Linked DNA regions of Homo sapiens: region 2 is linked to region 1. Evidence: promoter capture Hi-C in 16 types of primary human blood cells and fetal thymus (Javierre and others, 2016). All regions are on one chromosome and are shown on one strand. Each heading gives the region's core, a stretch centred on a gene start or on the middle of the fragment in contact. The rest is flanking DNA. Distances are from core to core; before and after follow the strand shown.

The links. Contacts are between HindIII fragments. The CHiCAGO score rates a contact against its expected background, and 5 or more counts as called.
Region 2: a fragment that was not itself captured here is called in contact with the fragment with the promoter of FLNB-AS1 in region 1 in 1 of 17 cell types (naive B cells); the score reaches 6.8 in naive B cells.

Annotation. Positions count from the first base shown.
Region 1 is chr3:58,169,175-58,173,047 of GRCh38, forward strand. It overlaps FLNB-AS1 (FLNB antisense RNA 1), which reads right to left and starts at 1,461. Exons shown (of 2, transcript NR_135534.1): 1 at 1,323-1,461. It overlaps FLNB (filamin B), which reads left to right. Exons shown (of 46, transcript NM_001457.4): 45 at 416-619; 46 at 1,401-3,077. The coding sequence ends at 1,588. It overlaps LOC124909485, which reads left to right and starts at 2,603. Exons shown (of 6, transcript XM_047449435.1): 1 at 2,603-2,699; 2 at 2,897-2,987. The coding sequence starts at 2,603. The HindIII fragment of the contact is 5,353 bases long and covers 1-1,785 here.
Region 2 is chr3:57,096,091-57,100,064 of GRCh38, forward strand. IL17RD (interleukin 17 receptor D) reads right to left here. Exons shown (of 13, transcript NM_017563.5): 12 at 1,506-2,448; 13 at 1-415. The coding sequence ends at 303. Among named protein-coding and RNA genes, the nearest start is that of SPATA12, 37 kb to the left of the region's middle. RefSeq lists an enhancer at 1,126-2,325. The HindIII fragment of the contact is 3,437 bases long and covers 1-3,202 here.

The DNA of each region.
Region 1 (3,873 bases), core at 211-2,710:
TCAGATAGAAAAATCATCCTTTCTCATCCACAGAATCATTTTTTGATATTTCATTATATGTCATCCCAAACTTTTACACTGCTTATACATAGACTATTTTATGTCAATAGAAAGATGTGAATTCCACAGGCACATCTTTGGTGGGTAGGGGGTGGGGGGATTGGGAGGGTCCTTGGCCTTGTCAGCCAAGGCCAGACTCATCCATTTGCCCAGAAAGCCAGATCCTAGTTGTATGGGGGTGGGATCCTAGGGGTTTAGAAGACATTATGGGTGTGAGATACAGGTGTGGTGGCTTTTGTGTTGGGGTGCGCGGGCTCTCCTGGGGTTACTGTGTAGGGTACTCGCCTGTCCTCTGGCTGAGAGACCCCTCTTGATCTGGCCATTCATGCCTGTCCCCCTCCCTCCTGTATCTTAGGCCAGCGTCTAGTTAGCCCTGGCTCAGCCAACGAGACCTCATCCATCCTGGTGGAGTCAGTGACCAGGTCGTCTACAGAGACCTGCTATAGCGCCATTCCCAAGGCATCCTCGGACGCCAGCAAGGTGACCTCTAAGGGGGCAGGGCTCTCAAAGGCCTTTGTGGGCCAGAAGAGTTCCTTCCTGGTGGACTGCAGCAAAGCTGGTAGGTGTCTGGGCCTTTTCAAGGGTGGGGTGGGGCAGGGGCAGGCTGGGCACCCTGGGTACACTGGCCTTCCCTGCTGAGGTCTCCTGCAGTGCCCACCCCCATGTAGGCCAGCCGTTTGCAAGTAACCATCGTCATGACCCTGTTCTCCTGCACTTAATATTTTTAAATGATTTCCTTCTCTTTTGCCTTTTGAACTTGGGTATTTATTTGGGTTTCAAGGGTCGGTTGCCTGGGTTCTGGCATCCAGTACACCTGGGCTGGAAACCTAGTACCGCCACTTCATTCATTCATTCGTTTGTTCTAAAACTTATTTAGCCATGTGACCTTGGAAAGTTATTAAATCTCTTTCCAAAAGTCAGTTTCCTCTTCTCGGAAGTACCTTCCTTAAGGTGCTTGTGAGAGTAAACAAGAAGATTCTCATAGCCAACACTTAGAATAGCCCTTACTGTGTGCTAGGTTTTGACACCCATAACTCTTAAACCTCACAACTAGTTCGTGAGGTATGTGCTGTTCTCATTCCCTGTTTACAGATGGGGAAGCTGAGCTAGGGAGAGGTGAGATTCCAGTCCAAGGTCACCCAGGTAGCAAGTGGCAGGGCAGGGATTCGAACCCACACCGTCAGGCTCTATGAGCCTCTGCTTGTAATTGCCACGCTCTCCCACCTCTTAGGGGCCCCAGCATTATCGTGGAAGCACCTTACCTTTGGCTCTCATATTTCCTCTTCTTCCTGTGCCTGTCCTGATGCATCCGGGTGGAGTAACCACCTTTTGCCTCCTAGGCTCCAACATGCTGCTGATCGGGGTCCATGGGCCCACCACCCCCTGCGAGGAGGTCTCCATGAAGCATGTAGGCAACCAGCAATACAACGTCACATACGTCGTCAAGGAGAGGGGCGATTATGTGCTGGCTGTGAAGTGGGGGGAGGAACACATCCCTGGCAGCCCTTTTCATGTCACAGTGCCTTAAAACAGTTTTCTCAAATCCTGGAGAGAGTTCTTGTGGTTGCTTTTGTTGCTTGTTTGTAATTCATTTTATACAAAGCCCTCCAGCCTGTTTGTGGGGCTGAAACCCCATCCCTAAAATATTGCTGTTGTAAAATGCCTTCAGAAATAAGTCCTAGACTGGACTCTTGAGGGACATATTGGAGAATCTTAAGAAATGCAAGCTTGTTCAGGGGGCTGAGAAGATCCTGAGTACACTAGGTGCAAACCAGAACTCTTGGTGGAACAGACCAGCCACTGCAGCAGACAGACCAGGAACACAATGAGACTGACATTTCAAAAAAACAAAACTGGCTAGCCTGAGCTGCTGGTTCACTCTTCAGCATTTATGAAACAAGGCTAGGGGAAGATGGGCAGAGAAAAAGGGGACACCTAGTTTGGTTGTCATTTGGCAAAGGAGATGACTTAAAATCCGCTTAATCTCTTCCAGTGTCCGTGTTAATGTATTTGGCTATTAGATCACTAGCACTGCTTTACCGCTCCTCATCGCCAACACCCCCATGCTCTGTGGCCTTCTTACACTTCTCAGAGGGCAGAGTGGCAGCCGGGCACCCTACAGAAACTCAGAGGGCAGAGTGGCAGCCAGGCCCACATGTCTCTCAAGTACCTGTCCCCTCGCTCTGGTGATTATTTCTTGCAGAATCACCACACGAGACCATCCCGGCAGTCATGGTTTTGCTTTAGTTTTCCAAGTCCGTTTCAGTCCCTTCCTTGGTCTGAAGAAATTCTGCAGTGGCGAGCAGTTTCCCACTTGCCAAAGATCCCTTTTAACCAACACTAGCCCTTGTTTTTAACACACGCTCCAGCCCTTCATCAGCCTGGGCAGTCTTACCAAAATGTTTAAAGTGATCTCAGAGGGGCCCATGGATTAACGCCCTCATCCCAAGGTCCGTCCCATGACATAACACTCCACACCCGCCCCAGCCAACTTCATGGGTCACTTTTTCTGGAAAATAATGATCTGTACAGACAGGACAGAATGAAACTCCTGCGGGTCTTTGGCCTGAAAGTTGGGAATGGTTGGGGGAGAGAAGGGCAGCAGCTTATTGGTGGTCTTTTCACCATTGGCAGAAACAGTGAGAGCTGTGTGGTGCAGAAATCCAGAAATGAGGTGTAGGGAATTTTGCCTGCCTTCCTGCAGACCTGAGCTGGCTTTGGAATGAGGTTAAAGTGTCAGGGACGTTGCCTGAGCCCAAATGTGTAGTGTGGTCTGGGCAGGCAGACCTTTAGGTTTTGCTGCTTAGTCCTGAGGAAGTGGCCACTCTTGTGGCAGGTGTAGTATCTGGGGCGAGTGTTGGGGGTAAAAGCCCACCCTACAGAAAGTGGAACAGCCCGGAGCCTGATGTGAAAGGACCACGGGTGTTGTAAGCTGGGACACGGAAGCCAAACTGGAATCAAACGCCGACTGTAAATTGTATCTTATAACTTATTAAATAAAACATTTGCTCCGTAAAGTTGCCTTGGTGTTCTTGGATGATGTCGCTTCTGAATAAATTGTTTAATCCTAGGAGTTCAACACCCTCAGCCTGGGTAACAGCAAGACCCAGCCTCTACAAAAAATTAAAAAATTAGCCAGCATGGTGATGCATGCCTGCAGTCCCAGCTACTCAGGAGGCGGAGGCAGGAGGATTGCTTGAGCCTGAGAGGCCAAGGTTGCAGTGAGCTGTGTTTGCAACCCTGCACTCTAGCCTGGGCAACAGAGCAAGACAGTGTAACACACACACACACACACACACACACACACACACACACACAGGCACATCGTTGGAGCCCCAGATCAGCTCTCCCAACCCCTTAAGGGACACAAAACTAGCAACTTGTTTTGACAATGAACCTGGGCTCCTTTTGTGGGGGTGGGGTGGGGCTGGTAAACAAGCTGTCACCTGTCACCCTGCTGTGCTTATTGTTGCTGCTGCCTCTGTTTCTCTTTTTTTTTTTTTTTTAATTTTCCTTTTTTGAGACAGAGTCTCACTCTGTTGCCCAGGCTGGAGTGCAGTGGCAGGATCTCTGCTCACTGCAGCCTCCGCCTCCCAGGTTCAAGTGATTCTTCTGCCTCAGCTTCCCAAGTAGCTGGGACTACAGGCGTGCACCACCATGCCTGGCTAATTTTTGTCTTTTTAGTAGAGATGTGGTTTCGCCGTGTTGGCCAGGCTGGTCTTGAACTCCTGACCTCAAGTGATCCGCCCTGCCTTGGTCTTCCAAAGTGCTGTATTACAGGCGTCAACCACTGCGACTGGCCTGTTTCTCCTT
Region 2 (3,974 bases), core at 234-2,733, 1.1 Mb before region 1:
CATATTTCCTCCCTACCTCCCACAACAGGCTCTGATCCAAGGACTAACCAAATTTGGCAAGCTGTTGTCAGACCTTATGGACATGCCTTTCAGAGCTCCATATCATTTTAGAAAATTGGAGAGTTTGTCAAGATATCCGGTAAAGGGTTGGGGCAAGGGAGAACAAGTACTGGCCAGCATTTCACTCCAAATATCCTTGTATGAGACCTCAGCTCCAAGTGGGCCATGCAACCAGGGAGATGAGCTGGGGAATCAGAGGGAGGCAGCAGCTAAAGTGGCAATGCTTAGACTCTTTCGTTTTGTTACAAAGGGGCGACCGCGTGGAGTTCATCAGTGTAGCTGCGGCAACCAAGATCTGCTTTGCATGACCCAGAAGAGAGGAGCTTGGAAGGAAGGGCAGGAGGTTCCTCCTCACCTAAGGAGAGAAGAGAGTACAGAGTCACACTGTCATTGCATTTCACTGGGCTGGGCAGGTGCTCATGGCAGAATGTGACTGGATCTGGGTTTGGACTATGGGCTCTGTATAAACGAGGCAAGAATCCCAACCAACTCAAGATGGGGCACTCTCATCCTCCTAACAGGTTCTAGTTCCCTTAGTTGAGGAAGGAAGAGATATTTCTTAAAAGTCAAGCGTTTAGGCCGGGCGCAGTGGCTCACGCCTGTAATCCCAGCACTTTGGGAGGCCGAGGTTGAGGGATCACTTGAGGTCAGGAGTTTGAGACCAGCCTGGCCAACATGGTGAAACCCAATCTCTACTAAAGATACAAAAATTTAGCTGGGCATGGTGGCGCATGCTTGTAATCCCAGCTATTCGGGAGGCTGGGCAGAAGAATCGCTTGAACCCAGGAGGCAGAGGTTGCAGTGAGCTGAGATCATGCCATTGCAGCCTGGGCGACAGGGTGAGACTCCATCTCAAAAAAAAAAAAAAAAAGTCAAGGGTTTGTATGCATGACTCCAACTAGTTACAGACATGGTAAGGGACAGCCTGAGATGGCATCTACCTGATGCTCCCTGCAGAAGTAGGCCTTCCTAGAGAGCCCTCATACCTGGGACCCTATGCTGAAGGATAGAAAGAATACTGTACCCATGAATCCCAGACTCAATGAATGTAGCTTTAAAGACAATGGGGGCGGGGGGTGTGAACATTACAGGTCTAAAAAAGACGCATCCACAAACTGTTACCCAAGACCCTTGGGGCCCAATGTGTTTTCGTGTCTGATGTTTTTGGAGTTTAGAAAAGTGATACAGTGCATAGTCTGTATGTGGCACAACACCCCTTGCAGGGTCTGGGCAGCTCACTATAATTTAGCATTAGTATTTCTGCAACTCAAACATGTGAGTACTCCCATCACCTGGTATAAATCAAGACTACCAAACGAGCTGTGTTCTCATCAGGTTTCATTGCCCAATAAGTTGGCACCAAAAGTGGAAAAACGCTTTGACTGATTTCAGAAGCATGGTCAAAGGCTGCGGCCTGTTAGGACCCGGCCCCAAAGGCACCTTACCCAGGCCTGAAGAGGAGGACACGCTCTCCGTCAGGGAAGACGTTTCTGTCTGGTCCGTCGAGAGTCCTTCCATCAGTGGCAGAGACAGCTCGGATGAGGGCACAGACGAGTCATAGATGCCTGAGTCCCGCGGCATGTCCGAGGGGCTGCCGGCTTTCACCGTGTGCAGCAGGGGTTGCAGGGCGGCGCTACCGTCAAGGGCAGGCCGGGCCTCCCCGTCTTGGTCCAGGCCCCCATGCTGACTCTCGTGCTGGGAGTCGGCTGGTCCGGTTGCCCCAAGAACAGCCGCCTCTACCTTTAGGCAGAAGTCACTCTCAGGCCCTGGTTTGCACATGACATCATTTAAAACCAAGCCCGAATCAAATTTCTCCAAGACTGGCTCCCGGTAGCGCAGTGGAGGAGGATGGAAGGGAACGAACTGCTTTTCGAACCAGTCGGGCTCCTCGTCAATAAACTGGTGCATGTTGCAAATGGCGACGTATAGGGACCGGCCTGACTTGCTCCGGAAGTAGTTCCTTCTGCTGCCCTGTCGCGTGTGCTGCCCCGGCTCCTGGAGGCCGTGGTCTCGGGAGTGCAAGTGGGAACAGAGCTGAGGAAGATTGTCCATGAGTCTGTACTTGGTACTCAGGTCTAGGATACCGGGGACGTCTCCCTCGCAGGAATAATCAAAGTAGACGGCGATAAACTTGCTGAGCGCCGCGGACGAACTCTGCTTGGCCTGGCGGAGCTTTTCGGCAATGGCTGACACCGCCACCAGGAAGAGCTCTCCTTTCCCCGAGCCTCGGCCACCTCCTTTGTGTTTGTAGTTCTTCTTGTCCACAAAGTACTTCATACCTTTGGAACAAACCACAATGATGAACTGGGACTCGTGGATCTTCTGGATGACCCATTCTCTCTGCCCTTCTCTACAGAGGCTGAAGTCTTCCCACAGGTCCAGAGCCACCTGGAAAGAGAACAAGGCACCTCACCCATACAGAAGGCTCGGGAAGAGGCTCGGGAAGTGAGTAACAGGAAGGGAAATGTCAGAAGGAGGCCATCTCATCTGCCCCTTAACCCTTATTAGCACAGCTATGTGCAGGCTCCAGGTTACACCATACCAAGGAACAGCTAAAGTTCCGTGGGTGATGGTCACACCCTAGTCCCTCTGCAAAAACTTGCCATCCATCCATTTTTGTATCACATGGAGTCATTACCACTCCTGCCCTACAAGTGAGGGGACAGAAGCGCAGTGCTTTTGGCACCTTGCCCAAGTCACACCCTACATAGGATATCCTCAAGGAAGCAACAGGTGGTAGAGAGCACAGGACAGAGAAACTGAGGTTGGTTGATCTGGTGAGTGAGGTGCCTAGATTGGAGGGGCAGATTCTGGAGAGAAGGCTGGCAGGCTCTGAGAGGAGGATGTGGATGAGTGACTCCAAAGTGAGCTGGGAGATGGGGCTCAGGCCTGGATGCCAGTCACCCACAATTATAGGTGACTCACATCCAGACAGTGACTGACAAAGGGGACCTATCTCGACACTCTCATAGCCTCAGGCTCACCTATGTTGTTTACTAGTTGGTCCATGGCTGGAGAGGAGGCTAGTGAACTGCATTAACATGGTCATTCTGAGTAACTCACTCAGGACTGGCTAGCACCTTCCTCTATGGCTTCACACAGGTATACAAGGCTACATCTCTACAAGGCTGGTAATTGACAAAGCTTTACCCCCAAAGGCGGTCTGGTAGAGAGACTGTGGGCGTGGCTGACAAAGGAGAGAAAAATCAGACATGTGTGGCCCCTTAGAGGACTTCACCTTCTCAGACCACTTTTACCTAATTCTACCAGAAACATCTCTTGGTTATTGTGTTGATGTCTTTCCTTCTGTAGTTATTAATTCCCAATGGCTATGACGAAACACAGCAGCCACACTATCTTACAGGGAAGGGCATTCTGAAACGACTTTGTTCTCCTCTTCTGCTCTAAGATGTTACCAATGGGGAAAAAGCCCCAACATCCATCCACTTGCTGAAAATAACCCTGAATTGTCTTATACTTTCCTTAATTCTTGTTAACATTACACATGCTAAAAGCTCAGTGGGAGTATATACCAAGCATTTTTTAAATGTTTCTATCTTTGACCCAGCAATTCCATTTCCAGGCATCTTTCTTGGGAAATCATCACAAATGGGACAATATTGAACCACTGAGATGTTTAATATTTGTATTAACTCAGTTATGGCAAATCAATATGGAGGATCATGTAGCTATTTAAAATTGCAGTTGACATATAACTACTAATAGTGTAAAAAATTATTAAGAGACTGCAAAAAATCATTTCAATCAGCCCCAAAGGCAAAACTGTACGTGTGAGTTCACCTATATGGAAAAAGACTGGAAGGAAATAAACCACACATGAAATATGAGTTCCTCTTTCTAAGATTTTCCTTAATCAGTTTGGGATTCCAGACAATGTTTTATTTATCATCCTT